6 separate regions of the Homo sapiens genome follow, and all the other regions are linked to region 6. Evidence: promoter capture Hi-C in 16 types of primary human blood cells and fetal thymus (Javierre and others, 2016). All regions are on one chromosome and are shown on one strand. The core of a region is centred on a gene start or on the middle of the fragment in contact, and the rest is flanking DNA. Distances in the headings are between cores, read along the strand shown. Region 1 overlaps HTT (huntingtin). Region 2 overlaps HTT (huntingtin). Region 3 overlaps HTT (huntingtin). Region 4 overlaps HTT (huntingtin). Region 5 overlaps HTT (huntingtin). Region 6 holds the start of DOK7 (docking protein 7).

What was found. The method cuts DNA at HindIII sites, captures the fragments that hold promoters and counts their contacts. A CHiCAGO score of 5 or more calls a contact.
Region 1: a contact is called between a fragment that was not itself captured here and the fragment with the promoter of DOK7 in region 6, in 2 of 17 cell types (endothelial precursors and naive CD8 T cells). The highest score is 6.5, in endothelial precursors.
Region 2: a contact is called between a fragment that was not itself captured here and the fragment with the promoter of DOK7 in region 6, in 3 of 17 cell types (fetal thymus, non-activated CD4 T cells and naive CD8 T cells). The highest score is 6.6, in fetal thymus.
Region 3: a fragment that was not itself captured here is called in contact with the fragment with the promoter of DOK7 in region 6 in 1 of 17 cell types (endothelial precursors); the score reaches 7.0 in endothelial precursors.
Region 4: a contact is called between a fragment that was not itself captured here and the fragment with the promoter of DOK7 in region 6, in 1 of 17 cell types (endothelial precursors). The highest score is 5.5, in endothelial precursors.
Region 5: a contact is called between a fragment that was not itself captured here and the fragment with the promoter of DOK7 in region 6, in 5 of 17 cell types (total CD4 T cells, naive CD4 T cells, erythroblasts and 2 more). The highest score is 7.1, in total CD4 T cells.

What each region holds. Positions count from the first base shown.
Region 1 is chr4:3,156,856-3,159,555 of GRCh38, reverse strand. It overlaps HTT (huntingtin), which reads right to left. Exons shown (of 67, transcript NM_001388492.1): 28 at 2,357-2,484. Among named protein-coding and RNA genes, the nearest start is that of HTT, 84 kb to the right of the region's middle. The HindIII fragment of the contact is 2,184 bases long and covers 303-2,486 here.
Region 2 is chr4:3,109,840-3,112,539 of GRCh38, reverse strand. The region is part of intron 6 of HTT (huntingtin); the gene reads right to left. Among named protein-coding and RNA genes, the nearest start is that of HTT, 37 kb to the right of the region's middle. The HindIII fragment of the contact is 829 bases long and covers 959-1,787 here.
Region 3 is chr4:3,175,777-3,178,476 of GRCh38, reverse strand. HTT (huntingtin) reads right to left here. Exons shown (of 67, transcript NM_001388492.1): 34 at 1,090-1,145; 35 at 31-179. Among named protein-coding and RNA genes, the nearest start is that of MSANTD1, 72 kb to the left of the region's middle. The HindIII fragment of the contact is 4,405 bases long and covers 1-2,700 here.
Region 4 is chr4:3,089,380-3,092,079 of GRCh38, reverse strand. The region is part of intron 2 of HTT (huntingtin); the gene reads right to left. Among named protein-coding and RNA genes, the nearest start is that of HTT, 16 kb to the right of the region's middle. The HindIII fragment of the contact is 2,201 bases long and covers 221-2,421 here.
Region 5 is chr4:3,129,725-3,132,424 of GRCh38, reverse strand. HTT (huntingtin) reads right to left here. Exons shown (of 67, transcript NM_001388492.1): 13 at 2,378-2,501; 14 at 2,002-2,120; 15 at 1,028-1,139; 16 at 650-787. Among named protein-coding and RNA genes, the nearest start is that of HTT, 56 kb to the right of the region's middle. The HindIII fragment of the contact is 2,912 bases long and covers 1-2,700 here.
Region 6 is chr4:3,461,993-3,464,692 of GRCh38, reverse strand. DOK7 (docking protein 7) reads right to left here and starts at 1,387. Exons shown (of 7, transcript NM_173660.5): 1 at 1,264-1,387; 2 at 1,142-1,187. The coding sequence starts at 1,317. RefSeq lists an enhancer at 1,762-2,609. The HindIII fragment of the contact is 8,339 bases long and covers 1-2,700 here.

The DNA.
Region 1 (2,700 bases), core at 145-2,644, 310 kb after region 6:
ACCATGACTACGCTAGTCAACCTGGGTGTGCCCTAAGGCCAGCCAAAGGAAAGAAAAATCCAGCAGTGACACCACTGAGGGTCCAAGGAACGAGGTGATGTGGTGATGTCATGTGAGATGAAGAGCCCAGGGAAGAAAGGGTTCTCCTCCAATATGCACAGCAATCTGACCTCTCCTGGACAACAGGTAAGTGGGAGGGAAAAGAAGGCATGGAATTCTGGAAAGAGAAGTTCACCATGGGAAGTTCTAGCTCTCAAAGAAGGGAAAAGAGGTCATGAGATGAGAATTAAGATGAAAAAGCTTCCAGGTCTTCAGAAGAGCTGCAAAAGTTCTGTGGAGACTCGAAACCAAAGCAAGAAACCAGGGAAGACAAAAGGAATCAGAGGAGTGCAGGAAGGGCCACACAAGAAATGGGGAGTGGAGACGCTGAGCAACTCAGCAGAAGGAACCAAGGAAACCAGAGGCAATACTCAAAGATCCAGCAAGACACGCCAGGCACTCCAAACGCACTTCAGCTGAGAAGCTGCGCAGCAGGAGCTGACCGCGGGGATGACAGAGCAAAGGAAACAGGAGTCCAAGATGCCAGGGAGGCCAGAATTACAGCAGAACATGCTGGAGTTCAGGGTATTCAGGAAGGAAAATAATAAACAGATAGCAAGCACTAGGAGCATGGAAAGGTGCCCTGAAATTCAAGATGATATGAGTTGAAAACAGGTGGAAAAGAAGTATCTTCTCTACGGCATTTTTCAACATGCCGTCTTCTGCTTTGGGAGCTGACATGAGAACCATGCAGCTTAAAGAGACCTCAAACCTTGTAAAATATGAAGACTTTCATATCTTCCAAAATTATCAAACATCCTTCAGAAAATAAGCCACATACGTTTGATAAATGATTTTCAGGGGAAAAAAAACCCATAAGAAGTAACTATTAGTAACAAAAACAGAGGAATACCTGAGGATTCATTTATCAAGAAATGTGCAAGAGCTATGTGAAATAATCTTTAAGTTTTTTTTAAAATCCTTTAAATTTCATGTGCTTCTGAGGTAATTTAAAAAGTTCTGAACAAATAGGAAAGCATCCCACATTCTGGACAGGGTGACTTAACATCTGAGGTATAAGTTCTCCCTAAATCAATCTACAAGTAGAAGTTGATTCTATTGTTCACATCCCAAAATCAATAAAGAAGAATATCCAGAAAATTCTAAAGAACAACAGGGGAACTGATCCCCTCATAAATACCATTAAGCTACAATAATTAAGAAGTATACTTGTAGCCGGGTGCAGTTGCTCACACCTGTAATCCCAGCACTTTGGGAGGCCAAGGAGGGAGGATTACTTAAGCCAGGAGCTTGAGACCAGCCCAGGCAACTTAGGGAGACCCTGTCTCTACAAAAAATGTAAAAATTAGCTGGGTGTGGTGGCACATGCCGGTAGTCCCAGGTACTCAGGAGCTGAGGTGGGAGGATCACTTGAGCCCTGAGACTGCAGGGAGGCATGGTTGCACCACTGCACTCCAACCTGGGGACAGAGCAAGACTCTGTCTAAAAAAGAAAAAAAAAAAACAAGGATGCTTCTAATAGATGAGCAGACAGATAGATTGATATAACAAAATAATAAATGAAACTACTGAAACTAGAGAACTATGAGAATGTAAGTAACTCAAGCCAATTAGTGCAGAAAAATTCTTCTGTAAACATTATTGGGGACAACCAAAAACAAAAATTAAATTAGACACATACTTCATATCTAACAAATTGCAGATGAACAGAAAATTTTAAAGTTAAAAAAAAAAATGAACTAAAAAACTAAAACATCCCTAGACAGAAAGGCTGGCTCTTGGGGGTATCTGGTGAACAGTTTCTTACGCTGACATAAACTTTCCCTAGCTGATAACAAGTGGCTCACCATGCCCAGACTATTTGAAACACATGGTTTATGCCGAACACCTGCTTTTCTTCTGTGAGTCTGGAATTGTGGCTCATGTTAGGCAGAGGGTACCTGCAGGACCAGCATGTTGCTGTATTTTTGTGTGAGCCTCACGGGAGGGAAGGAAGCCTGTACACGGATCCCTCCAGACTCCACCAGGGCCACTTCCCCCTATAACCTGGCTGCACATCCTAGCTCTGTCACTGTAATCAATCTTAGCTGTGAGTACAAACAATATGAAAATCCAAAACACCTGTATGATAGAAGCTATCATAAACAAAGCTGAAAGACAAACAAACTTGAAAAAACTAAATGTAACTCATATCTCAAAGGGCTTATACATCCTACAAATCATAAGAAAAACATCAACTATCCATTAGACGTAAGTATGTGTGCATATATATTTTTAAAAGATGCAGAGGCCCATACCTTGTAGTTAGCGTGTGTAGCTTTCAGGACATCATGCAGTTTGAGGTATGAAGGAAGATGATAGAAACTCCCCAGTGATGAGGATTTACTTGTTGTAACAGGACCTGAGGTATCAGATTGTCTAGAAGCTTTAAAAATATGCACACAAAAGATAAACTTTTAGATCAAAATAACTTGCCAAGTTTTAAAGAGATTACTGGAAATCATGATTTTTTAAAGTATTCTAGTATGAAAATATTCAAGTATTTCCTCTGACCTTTTGATTAACTAGAAGTAATGAGAAATTGACTAACAAACATAAGTAGAGCCTAAGTACTTTTTAAATAACAAAATAAGAAGAGCAG
Region 2 (2,700 bases), core at 124-2,623, 350 kb after region 6:
AATAAACCAGACAAAAAGAACACTTAATCCATGGTCTATGTACACAGAATTTAAAAACAGACTCTGGAATTAGAAGCCAGCAGTCATGACCTTGGGGAGGAAGGCAGGAGCAGTGACGGGGGAATAGGGGAGAGGCTTCTGAGTGCTTGGTAATATTCTGTCTTGACCTGGGTGGCGGTTACAAGGGTTAAGTTCACTTTGTGGTTATTCACCAAGGGATACACTAATGATTTCTGTCCTGTATGGTATGTACATTTCCTGTCAGGAAAAGGAAAAACAAGGGAGTATCAGTGTTTGGCAGGTAATTTTGAGAATAAGAATAAACCAGAGGGTGGGAGATTTCTAATCCAACACGCTGGATTGAACTTGTGAAGCTCTGCTACCCAGAAACCCCACAAAAATCATGTAAAGAAGTTGTATAAAGCATATATTTACACGAACAGAAAGAACAGAACAGGGACATTAGCAGACTACGGGTGTCAACAAAACTTCGGAAGCTAAAAAGTAACAAGAGCTACATAACTGACTGATTTGTTAGCCCGTAGGAAGAAGTTCAAATGCAAGCTTTGCTGGGGACAGGGGAGGGTAGGAGGGATACCAGCAAAAAGCAAGCTTATTGAAGCCACAGACGCCAAGAAGAGCTCGGGCTTTGGAGGCGCCACATACATCTGAAAGTGGAGGGATGGAGAGGGTGAAATAGTGGCTGGTCTCATGGCTCCTTGGGCAAATTCCCACCCACTCACCTGAGGTCTTCCCTCCAATCCAAGGCAGCCCAGGAAGCAGCCCCTCCCCCACCTCCGGCAAAGATTGAGAGGGATAATCTCAAGAGGTGTTTACATAGGCTGAGGACAGACGTGAGATGCACACAGAAAACAAAAAGTAAGAGGGCACCCTGACCAGCAACACTGTCAGTCCCCTCCCTTCCAGTCCCCGGTTGCAGGATAAACATAGCCAAGCTTATAGCCTCCAAGCAGGAAAATGAGTAATTTCCTTCCAGGGATACTAGCTGACTCAAGAGGAAAAGACTTATAGATACTGGTATTTAAAGATCTAATGATGGGCTCACGCCTGTAATCCCGGCACTTTCGGAGGCCAAGGCAGGCGGATCACCTGAGGTCAGGCGTTCGAGACCAGCCTGGCCAACATGGTGAAACTCTGGCTCTACTAAAAATACAAAAATTAGCCGGGCATGGTGGTGCACACCTGTAATCCCAGCTACTTGAGAGGCTGAGGCAGGAGAACTGCTTGAACCTGGGAGGCAGAGGCTTAAGTGAGCCAAAATCCCACCACCGCACTCTAGCCTGGGCGACAGAGTAGGACTCCATCTCAAAAAAAAAAAAAAAAAAGTAAAGAAAATAGCTGGACGTGGTGGTGCATACCTGTAGTCCCAACTACTTGGGAGGGTGAGGCAGAACAGCTGCTTGAGCCCAGGAATTTGAGGCTGCAGTGAGCTATGATCGCACCACTGCACCACAACCTGGGCAACAGGGCAAGACCCCATCAAGAGACAAAGAAAAGAAAGAAGTTAAAAACATAACAATGAATAGAAGAGTTTGAGATGGATATCTAAAAAGTACCAGAAAAAGAAAAGAAAAAGGTAAGATGTGAGTCAATCTAGGAGGACCAACATCCAACTAACCAATTTCAGGAGAGAACACAGAAAATAAAAGGCAAGAACTTCTCAGAGAAATGTTAAGAAAATTTTCCCAGAACTGAAGGGATGTAAGTTTCCAAATTAAAAGGCCTACTAAGTACCTAGCACTTCACCTCCCCAAAAATGGAAAGCTTCCAAAGAAAAGTACATTCATAGGTTAAGGAATCGGGTCACGTTGGAGATTTTAAGACAACAGGGCAAAGACTTTGCATTTCTGAGGGAAAATGATTTCTACCCCAGAACACCATACCCAGCCAAGTGTACAGGAAAAAAAATGGCATTTTTATGAATGCAAAACCTCATACAATTTCCCTCCCATTCATCTTCTCTCAGGAAGCTACTAGACGATAGAAAAACATATGGCATCTAGGAACTGGGCATCCAACGGGAGAACTGCAAAGGAAATTCCAGGCTAATGGCAAAGAGAAGTCCTAGGATACAAGTGTACTACAGACCTGAAGATCAACCTGCCCAGACTGGGGCAGAGAGCTGGATAACTCAAGTTGGATGACCACACTGGGGAAAAACTGATTCAGTAAACTACCTGTCATGAAAAATTGTACTAAACACATATTACAAAGAAGTTGGAAGGTGTGAGAAGACAAAAAGGCCAAAGAATAATAAGCAAGCGATATAGAGGTAACGATTAACTCCAAGAAAACAGATGTGAAGATTAACTCCAGGAAAACAAAAAGTTGTACAAAGACATATAATCAAGGCACAAGCCAGCAAAGAGCAAGGCAGCAGCAATGGCCTCTGAAAGGAACCAGGGTCTGAGGAAAGCTGAACCTAGAAGTCAGGATCTGGAAGAAGATTGAACACGACATGGTGATGAAAGCCAGCACCAGCCTGCCCAAGAAGCTGGTGCTGCTGAAGGCCCCAATCAAGAAGTGGGCGGCTGTCTCCTCCACCTCCAAGATGCCTTCCTAAGGATGCTGGCCCCAGCACAAGCCAACACTGTAGCCCCCACCTCCATGATTAGACCTTGCAGGTGGCCCCCCCGTCCCCAGCACTGGGTCACCTAGAACTTCGATAGGGGCCTGGCC
Region 3 (2,700 bases), core at 33-2,532, 290 kb after region 6:
AAGACGACAGTGAAAGGTGTGTCCCGTTACCATGTGTCACAGCCTTCCTTCCACTGGCCATGATGCCATCACAGAGCTGAATGATTTTAGGAATTCCAATGATCTGTTTTGAATGATAGCGTTCATAAGATAGTAATACCAAGAAGAAAAAGATGTTTGGAATGATTGCCTCTGATTCCCTAAAAACAAAAACATCCATTTAGACCTTTCTTTTAAAATTAAGATACATATCAATATAAGCAACATAAAATAATTCATGATTCAACCTTGACAGCAAGCACACATCAAGCTAACAGGTGTCCGTGATCTACTCTAACCCCACCCCTGCCACAGTGCATCCCATCTGTGCCCTCGCGCAGAGCAGGGACATGTGTAAAGGTTCGGAGGCAGCAGGTAGAAGGCACCCGACGGCACAGGGGCACAGCAGCTACGATCTTCCTAGCTCTCCTCTGCCTCTTTGCTCTTGAAGAAATTGAAACTCAAAAGAGAAACAGTAACTTGCCCCAAAACACAGTGGAGGTGTCATGTAATTAGAATAAACACTATGTTTCCAGACCCCAGGGAATCTGGGAACACTTTCCTTCTGCACTAAATTTTCCTAATTACAATGTTTATTAAGCATTTTAGGTACTAAAAGAATTTTAACTTTTAATAATTATAAACCTGTAATGGACTAGCAAGAAGTATTAAAACCTCAACATCTAGCAAGAAAAAGCTGCAGAGAATACAAATGCATAATAATTACTAAAGACAACATTATATAAAACTGCTTTCTCTAAGAAGATTTAAAAACTAGTGCTCCACCACAAGATTTCATTCCACCATCTGTCAACACAATTAAATGCTTTGAAATGTGCAATGAATACTGACAACATATGGAATTTTCAGATACATAACTACTTCCAAACAAGTCTTGAGATATACATTAATTTTTAAGAGAAGCAAAAATGCACAGTATGTTAGTCAGATTTCCATTTAAAGAAAACAGCAAAAATGCCTAACAGTAGTTTAAACATTCACTTAATAACCTAAATTACATGTAAGTACACAAGAAGAAGAAAAAAATCTAAAATAATAAAATGCTATTACCTGAACTGGCCCACTTCAATGTATTCAAACTGTTTCAATACAAAGCCAATAAACACCTACAGGAAGGAAAATAAAATTTCACATCAATAATAGGATTAAAATGTAAAAACCAGGCTTCTTTTCCTCCTGCTTATCTGCATAAATTTTAAATAAAATTCTTGACAGCTGATAAATTTGACTATAAGCATAACTCTATTCTGAAATCAGCCTAGATAATTGCAGAACACATCCAGGAATCCCCTCAACAACTTTACTATACCCTGAGGTGAAATCTCATTGGAAAAACAAATAATAAATTCCAAGAGACATCAGACAATACCCAAAATTACACCTTGGGGACTCATCTGTTCACGTTAATGGCAGATAGGGTGGCACAGATTCCCTGAAACTGGTTTAGTAATAAGATACCCAAAGGAGTCGACCTTCGTCCCCCAACCATCTGAGAGGCGACACGTAAGGGCTGCATGGGAGCCAGTTTTGTGTCACACTGTATTCCCTGCAGCTGTCAGCTTTCCCAACCTGACGGGGAGCTTCCATGGATAAAGCATGGAGCATATGGCCTGGTTTTCTCAGAGCCTCTGGGCAGAATGCAAACATACAGCAGGAGCTCAATAAATCTTTATCAGCATAGAGTTCAATGGTTTGTCTGTTCTAGTGTTCTATTCTTGTTCATAAAACTGTCACTGTACTGAATCTTAAGAACTGGGAGAAAGGGGACCGGTTGATGAAAGGCAATCAGAACAAACATGAAACCAGAGCAGTCTTTGTTCTTACTAGAATGGAACAAATCAGGGCTCTGGCTTCCCTTGGGGTACCCGTGCCCCCCTGAGAGCCTGCTCCTCTCAGCCCCTGCTGCCCACAGCCATAGACCAGGGCTTCTCCCCAGTCAGCCTCCTAGTGTCAAAGGAAAGGAAAAGAAGTTCCCAATGACTATTTCCTGAGGAGAGCAATGGCCCATTTAGACGGATTTTCTTCGGACAGGTTTTGTGAAAGAAAGATGAAAGCATCAGGCCAACGCAAAGCCCACCCCTTGATGCCTCCTTCATTAAAAGCAGACCCCAGGCCGGGCGCGGTGGCTCACGCCTGTCATCCCAGCACTTTGGGAGGCCGAGGCGGGCAGATCACGAGGTCAGGAGATGGAGACCATCCTGGCTAACACAGTGAAACCTCGTCTCTACTAAAAATACAAAAAATTAGCCTGGCGTAGTGGTGGGTGCCTGTAGTCCCAGCTACTCGGGAGGCTGAGGCAGGAGAATGGCGTGAACCTCTGAGGCGGAGCTGGCAGTGAGCCGAGATCGCACCCCTGCACTCCAGCCTGGGTGACAGAGCGAGACTCCATCTCAAAAAAAAAACAAAAAAAAACAAACAACAACAACAAAAAAAACAAGCAGATACCACCCCAATACCCACTGTGGAAAATCAGTGTTGACCGAGTGCCCTCAGTTCTCCTAGGGAAACAGACCCTTTCAGGTGAGTAACAGTGCTGACAGGATTAACAGATTTACGTCTAGAAGGAAATAGAGAAGTGTAATATTTCTAACTCACAAATATTCCTACCCCACATAAGAAAGTAGCCCAAGATCACGGCTCAAAAATGACAGTTAAATTTTG
Region 4 (2,700 bases), core at 72-2,571, 370 kb after region 6:
TTGCACTCTGGCCCAGGCGGACAGTGCAAGACTCCATCTCAATAAACACATAAATAAATATATCTTAAATTTTCAATCCCCTTTTAGTGGTAGGCCATTAAGGTTATTTTTAATTTTCTAATGGGATGAAGGGCACTGCACCAATATCATTACACACTTTCCTAGGGGTAAGCACCCTAGAGGTAAAACTGCTAGGTCAGACATATAATAATCTAAAGCTTTATATTTTCCCAAATTGCCTTCTTAGAAGGTTGTATCACCTCTGACAAAAATCTGAATATTCTTAATGTTTGCCAATTTGACAGGTAAAAAAGGTTCTTATTTTTGTTTCAGTTTCAGTCTACTGATTACTAGTGTCCTAATCAGCTTGAGTTTCTATAACAAAATACCACATACAGACTGGGTGGTTTAAACAATAAGCACTTACTCGTCACAGTTCTGGAGGCTGGGAGTCGGAGAACAAGGTGCCGACAGGTCGACAGTGTTTTTCTTAACGATATTTATAACTGCTCTTTACACAGGCTAGTAACCTTTGATCTATATGCTGTCAATACTTTCCCCAAGTTCAATTTACTTTCAATTTTGTTGAAGGTGGATTTTGACATATTGAACTATATTCCACTCAAAACAGTTTTTTCCTTTATAATGTTAACCTTCCTCAAACTAAGATTACATTTTTTAAAGAAATTATTTCATTTTTTCACATTTAGGTAATTAATCTGAACTTTATGTTTGTTTGCAATATGAGGTAGAGATATAATGTTCTCCCAAAGTCAGAGAAATGTATCATTTCCCTCATTTCCCTAATACATATATGTTACACCCATCATAAATTCATACAGATACACACATACACTCTTCTTTCTGTTCTATACCTGTTTTAACATCCAATCACTATTTTAATGTCACATACATTAAGTCTCACCATATTAGTGTTGATTTCTTTTTCTTTTTTCTCTTTTTTCTTGAGACAGAATTTTGCTCTTGTCGCCCAGGCTGGAATGCAGTGGTGCGATCTAGGCTCACCGCAACCTGTACCTCCTGGGTTCAAGCAATTCTCCTGCCTCAGCCTCCCAAGTAGCTGGGACTACAGGCATGCACCACCACACCCAGCTAATTTTTGTATTTTTAGTAGAGGCAGTGTTTCACCGCACTGGTCCAGCTGGTCTCAAACTCTTGACCTCAGGTGATCTGCCTGCCTCAGCCTCCCAAAGTGCTGGGATTACAGGCATGGGCCACCACACCAGGCCTGGTGATGATTTTGAGATATTCTTTGCAATTATGTATTTATTCTTGCAGTGAACAAGTTCAAAAATACCTCTACTAGAATTTTGATCAAGATTATTTTAAATTTCTGTGTTAATTTAGAGAAAATTCAACTTAGTAATATAAAATCTTCCTATCTAGAAAGTGGTCACCTATATCTTTCAGAAACATTAACAGAAGTTTTTATAAAGTTTTTGCATATTTATCGATTCCTTAGAGTTCGATATATTGGTGCTACTGTGAACTAGATCTTTAAACGTTATATTTTCTAGCTGATTTATGCTAATATATGGGAGATCTATGGATTTTTGTATATTTATGTTTACCTAGCCACCTTATCAAGGTACATATTAGTAAGAGGTTGCTCAAGTAAGCATTCCTGGGTATTCCCAAGAGGATACTTGTGAAAAATGTGTAGTCCCTACCTACTCAAACAGAATGCAGAAGTATGTTTGGGAAAAAGGACAGTGAGGTGCCTTCATTACTGTATTTTTAACAAATTTTCCAGATGATTTTGATGCTCATCCATACTTAGGAACCAGTAACTTAGACCACTTTAGAGAGCTTAAAGCAGACTACATTTTCACAATATACATGAAGTTTTAAATGACTTCCTACATTGAAAACGTCAGAAGCTGCCATTTATATAACCTCATTAGAGACAAAAATTAGTCTAGCACAAAAGCTATAAAAAAGTTCCAAAAGTTTAATTATATTTTAGGAGAGTTAACAGGAAACAGCGATGAGCAATAAGTTTCCATAAAACATATTTACATAAAATATCACCTTCAGCTATATACTCTGAAATCCCTAAAAAGTATAGAGTGTATCCTATGAAACCAAGAATAACCTCTCTGACTCCAAAAACTCCTTTTAACATGCTCTTCTGTAGAACAAGCATAATGAACTCTCAGCATTACTCCATAAAAACAAGAGACAGACTAATGTGAAAACCATTAACAGCTATTATTTTGATTTAATATGGCATATAGAACCACAAATCAATCTTAAGATGTCTCAACATACTTTACTAATATATGAATATAAGCCAACATTCCATGAATTCCATTTGAAAATTATCAAAAGACAAAATGACAAGAATAAAGCCTGACGCACTCAGATTGAAAGAGATCTTATTTCCTGGGTCAATAAGCTTTCAGAGAGAAATTATGTTCTCTGAGACCTGGATGGTGGAGATCAGATGAACAATGACCAAATGTTTGCCAAGTATTTAAAGTCATTTCACAAAAAAAGTAAAGATGGCCAGGGGCAGTGGCTCACGCCTGTAATCCCAGCACTTTGGGAGGCCGAGGCGGGCGGATCACGAGGTCAGGAGATCAAGACCATCCTGGCTAACACGGTGAAACCCCATCTCTACTAAAAATACAAAAATTTAGCCAGGCATGGTGGCGGGTGCCTGTAGTCCCAGCTACT
Region 5 (2,700 bases), core at 139-2,638, 330 kb after region 6:
AACCCTAAGTGATTAAAAAAAAAAAAGTTTCAGGATTTAAGAATTAGAGATTCATCATATTGCCAATATGTCCTCAATACCACAGACTTTCTGGATTATAATTCTAGGTTGTCAGATAATAAATCTGATTAAAATTCCAGATTCCACTTAAAAAAGATTAGAAAAAACCCTATTACACACTTACCTCATATAAATTCAAAAACACAAGTGTACCCTCTCACCCAAAGAAAAAGAGAGAACGAGAAGGCTCCATAGTAAGCATGGGCGCGATGGAGACTTGGGTCCACTGCTGCCTCAGCCAGTCCTGGTTCCCACTCACCCTGAGTGTGAATGCCTGGCCTGGCTGAGTGCGACTCAGCGCCACTGCGACCAGGCACAATTTGTGCTTTAGGTTTAAATCCGATGTGTATATATGTTGGCTCTTACGTGCTGAGGTTTCTACTTTTCTCCTCTATGGGTTTCATCTAAAGGGAACCCATGAAACAAAGAACTTCACTATTCATGTGTTTTCTGAAGAGCTACAACGCAGGTCAAATATCCCAAATGAACTCAAAACACTTACTGCTCTAAAACTAAAATAGTCAATACTGAAATAGTTTTTACAATAATGATTAAATCTGAGAAAATAAGATGTGAACTTTTAACATACCAGGGTATTCCGTGGTGTCAAGAGGAACTTTATAGAGTTTGCTGAAGAAAGATTCCGGGTGGAGGGCCACAGCTGCTCCCACACAGCTGAGGGCCAGGGCCTTCACGCTGACCCTCACATCCCTGTCCGGAACCAGCACTGCCAAGAAATCACCCAAGCCACCTTCAGCCTCAAACAACAGATTGTTTTCAAATGAACAAAACCAGACCCAATAACCTACCTGCTCCCATCATTTCCTCCCTCCCCTCGGCTAGTGAAAACCAAACTCATCCTCAGATTCTACTTCCTCTGCTGCACGCAAGGCAAAAACAGGCCACCAAGCTGACCTCTGAAACCTAGTTATTTCCTTCAACTGTGCACATCCCCTTTTGTACTCACCATTTTTTCCCCCTGTTAGCAAAAACGAAGCAGATAAAAGGCGGACACAATGGACAAGAGGTGCAGAGTCATCATCAGTGGACTGTCCAATGTCACCTTTGATGCGGCAAGGCTAGAAAGGAGACAATGACACTTGTTTGTCTCATACTCAACAATACATTCATGCATTAGTTCATTCAACAGATAGTTCCAGAGCAGCACTTAAGCCAGGTGCTGGGGATAAAGAGATGCCCTGGTTTGTGCCCATATGCACACCTGACCTCACAGAGACCATGGCCAAGCAGAAACAGACAAGTCAGAGGCAGCAGGACACAGGGTCACAGGGCTGTGGCAGGGGATAAATGCAGCATGCAGGGAGGGTGGGCGTGGTAAGAAGGCAGTTGACACTAGGCATTCAGGAACGGCTGCTGCAGAAGCAAAGCATGAAAGGTCTTCTACAGGACAAGCAGAAGCTACTTGGGGAAAGGCAACAGCCTGGGGAAGCCCAAATCTAAGAGGAAGTGGGCCTGGTAGATAGGGAGATGCCAAAGGCTATAATTCTGATTGATGGGACGAACTGTGAAACGCTATTCCTTGTCCTTGAGGAATTAAAAGTGAAGACAGTTACATTTACATGTAAAAAGATAATATGAAGAGAGACTTTTAGAACAGTTCAGTAGAACCAAAACAAGAAACGTTGCAGGCCATACGCAACCATCAAATGAATGATCCAAGAAATCAGACAAGGAAACATTCAGTACAGAATAGATTTGTCTGGGGCACACTCTCAAAGGAGGCAGAACTCAGGCAATTCTCAAGGCTGTGGGTAGTACCTGGAAAGGCAGAAAACAACAGGCCTGGGAAGAGCTGGTATTTAAAGGGGAAATTTAAAGGCCCAGGGATGGGAAAGCAATAAAGTAGACAGTAGCCAGGGCGATTTTAAATCCTCACACAAGCTCAGAAACACCAAGTCGTCTCAAGCCTATGTCCCTCACCTTGTTTTCTTGATCACCCGGTTCAGTAGCTTCATCTCTCAACACAAATTTATCAACACTGCTGTCAGAAGGCTGCCTGCAGTGACTCATGTTTTTCAATAAATGTGCCTGTTGAAGGGCTTTAAAAACAGAGAAATCAAGATTAAGTGACAAATTTCCACTTAAAATACAATTATACATTTATGCTAAGATAACTCAAAAGTATAAGATTTAGATCAAGAAAAAGTATGATTATTCCTCAATTGGTCATTTTCATCAGCTATTCAGAACTCAGAAAACAGTATCAAAGGACTTCTTCTTGGAAGCAAAGATATAATTAAGATGTCCAGGTCTGAATACAAACCACTTTGTAGCGCATCACCTGTAGTCCACATACCCATGGAAGAGTTCCTGAAGGCCTCCGAGGCTTCATCAGGAAGAATACCTGTGGCTTCCTCATCTTCATCCTGGGGCTGTCCAATCTGCAGGCCCAAATACTGGTTGTCGGTACCGTCTAACACCTAAACGGTTCAAGGGGGGCTGTGAGAATTTTGAAGTGTGATCACCAAGAGACAAGCCCTCCAACATGGAAGTGCAATGAGGAAAGAGCACATTTTACACACAGAACACAAATGTACTCATCTGTCATTTATTTCAAGGCACAGAAATGCACGCATGGAAACTGCTAAGAGCTTACTGATCACTCATTCCCACTACATT
Region 6 (2,700 bases), core at 138-2,637:
CTCTGGAGGGTCTGCACCGGCTCCAGCCCAGCACCATCCACCAAGCATCACCTGCCCCACCACGGCCCCGACCCAGCCACAGCTGACTAAAGCCTGTCATCCGCCCCAGCCTGGCAGGGCCTCTCACTCTGCCCAGACCCCATCCCTTCCTATACCAGGTCCCCTGCAGCCCCGGAGGACAAAGACGCCCTCCCAGGCTCTGTCGGTGCCCCCACAGCTCCAGGCAGGAGGTCTGGGCACGGAGGGCTGAGTGGAGAAGTGACCAGCGTGCAGTCCAGGCCCTGCAAGGGGAGGCGGAGGCAGGCAGGAAGTGCTTTCCTCCAGGACCACCTGAGGCCCTGCAGAGGGGACGCAGGAGGGATCCCTGCCCCACACCCTCCCTGGGAGTCACAGACACCCGTCCTGGAGGGTGCTCTGGCAGCCCCCTGGCGTACAGCCCCCCATGCACACAGGCCGAGCATCCCACCCAGACCCGGGCCTGGCCGGCTCTGCCGCACCTGTCCTCTGGAGCAGCTGCAGGCCCGGCTCAGCCCTCCCTACAGGCCCAGCGCTGCAGGCGGCCTGGGCTGCCAGACCTGGGGGCTCCATGCTGACCCTCCCCAAGCTGGGGTGCTGGCTCAGGGCGGGGACTGGGGGGGGACCCCTGCCTCCTCCCAGAGGACTGTTCCCCCAGCAATGTGGCAGTCACTCTGCCCTGCCCTACCGCAGCCCAGCCTCTCGTCTGCCTGGGAGGGGTCCAGGGTCAGCGCTAACCCACGCAGCACCCCTGGAGGCTGGGTTCGGGGGCCCTGCTCTGAGCGTTTCCACAAGCACAGCTCAACCCTCAGGTATGTGGGGCTTTGCTTCTGGGGGGCCCCTTGCTGCTCTGCTGGGGGGCTCAGGGCCTGCGTCCCCTCCGCCTACAGGGCCACCAGGCAGCCCCTCGGGCCTCAGTCTGCCCTGCTGGAAAGAGGGTTCTTCCGTCCAGGGCCCCCACCTGCGCTCCCAGGGGCGCCGGGGGGTCCGGGTCCGCACGGGGCTCTCGGGTTTCCCGGCGGGGTGACAGCGGCGGCGATTTTGGGCAAGCTGGCATTACTGCCCCGGGCCTCGGTAACCCGTGTCGCTACCCCCGCGCCCCCCGTCCCCCGCCCGCCCCGCTCACCTGCCACGGGCGACGGCTTCCGCAGCACCAGCCACCTACTCTTCCACTGCGGGGACAGGGGGGAGCGTGAGCCGCCGCCCGCGCCCGCGCCCCCCCCCCCCGCGCCCCCGACGCGCCCCGACCTTCTTGCCGTCCCGCAGCTTGACCTGGCCCTCCACCAGCGCCGCCTCGGTCATCTTCTGTCATGGTTCCGCGCCGCCGCGCTCGCCCCGGCGCCCCAGCCCAGGGTCACTTTCAAAATAGCTCGCAGGGCCCTGGGCTGGGCCAGGAGGGCGGGCCCGCGGGCAGGGCGGCGACACCGGCGACTCCAGGGCCGGCGCGGGCGGGGCTCCTTCTCCTGCGGGCGGCTCCCCCACCCCCACGGGCCCCTCTGGCCCCACCGTCCCGCGGCGGCCACTGGAGCCGCCCGCCCTCTGGAGCAAGCGCACCATCTGGGCTCAGACGCTCAGACCAGCGCCTGGCGGGGCGGGGGTCGGGCGGGGACTTCTTTTTCAAAAAGCAGAGACAACCACCTAGCAGACATCGGCCCCGCTCTGGGCACTGCTCCCAACTTTAAAGTTGGTCTTCAAACAATCCGGCTTCCCAGACTGGCATCTGCCCCTACCCCAGGGGTCACTAGACACCCGGACAACAGACTGGCCACAGGCAGCCCAGGCCTAGGATGCTCTCACATCCCCAGGCTTCCCCCACACTGAGGTGACCCCTCCCCAGGCAGGCAGTAGGGGTCGGGGAGCCCCTGGCAGCCTCTGTCTCTTCCTCCATTTCTGTTCCCATTAAAAGCCTGCAGGGACCCCAGTGCAGGTGGGCGGGTCCAGGACCCACAGTGCCGCCTCAGGGCCCCAGGTCTCCACCTCTTCTGCCCCCATCCCAGGCAAGAGCAGGCCCTGGTTAGGCCAGCCGGCTCCGATGGGCAGAGGAGCTGCCTGCTTTGTAAAGGACCTGCCAGCAGCCCTCCCAGCTGGGTGGACTTTGCGCTTCTGGACTCCCCCTCCTTGACCCTGTGGCTCCAGTCCAGCTGTCCCCAAGCTCTGGCCTGGGCATTAGATGTCACATCCAGGTTCTTCTGCAGAGAGGCCATGTGCTTTGGGGGACCTGGCAGGTCCGTGCCTTGGGTGTCAGCCCCATCCGAGAGACGGCCTCCACCACCCTGGGGTTGGGGACACCCAGCAGATACGGGAACAGCAGTGGGGAGGGGCGATGGCACCCTAGAAGATAAGCACCTGGACAAACAGCAAAGCTCCGTCCACATGCCCTACCCTAGACCCCATCCTCACGGGGCTGACGGTTCTCGGGGGAGAAGAAGGAAGGGGTAGACAGTGTCCCGTTAGGGAGGAGACGTCTTCATTTCATCCCATCCAGACCCTAGGCTGGGCTCTGTCTGCCTCGCACTGAGGAGCAAATGGAATCAGGGCAGCGTGAGGCCTCACAGCCAGGACTGAGCCACATCGGCTGACCTCAGAGCAGGGCTCAGAGGCATCGGGAGCCCTGGGCGCCCCTCCCCACTGCCCCTGTGATCCAAGAGACAGGTCTCCGGTGGGCCACAAGGGTTGGCTTTGGTG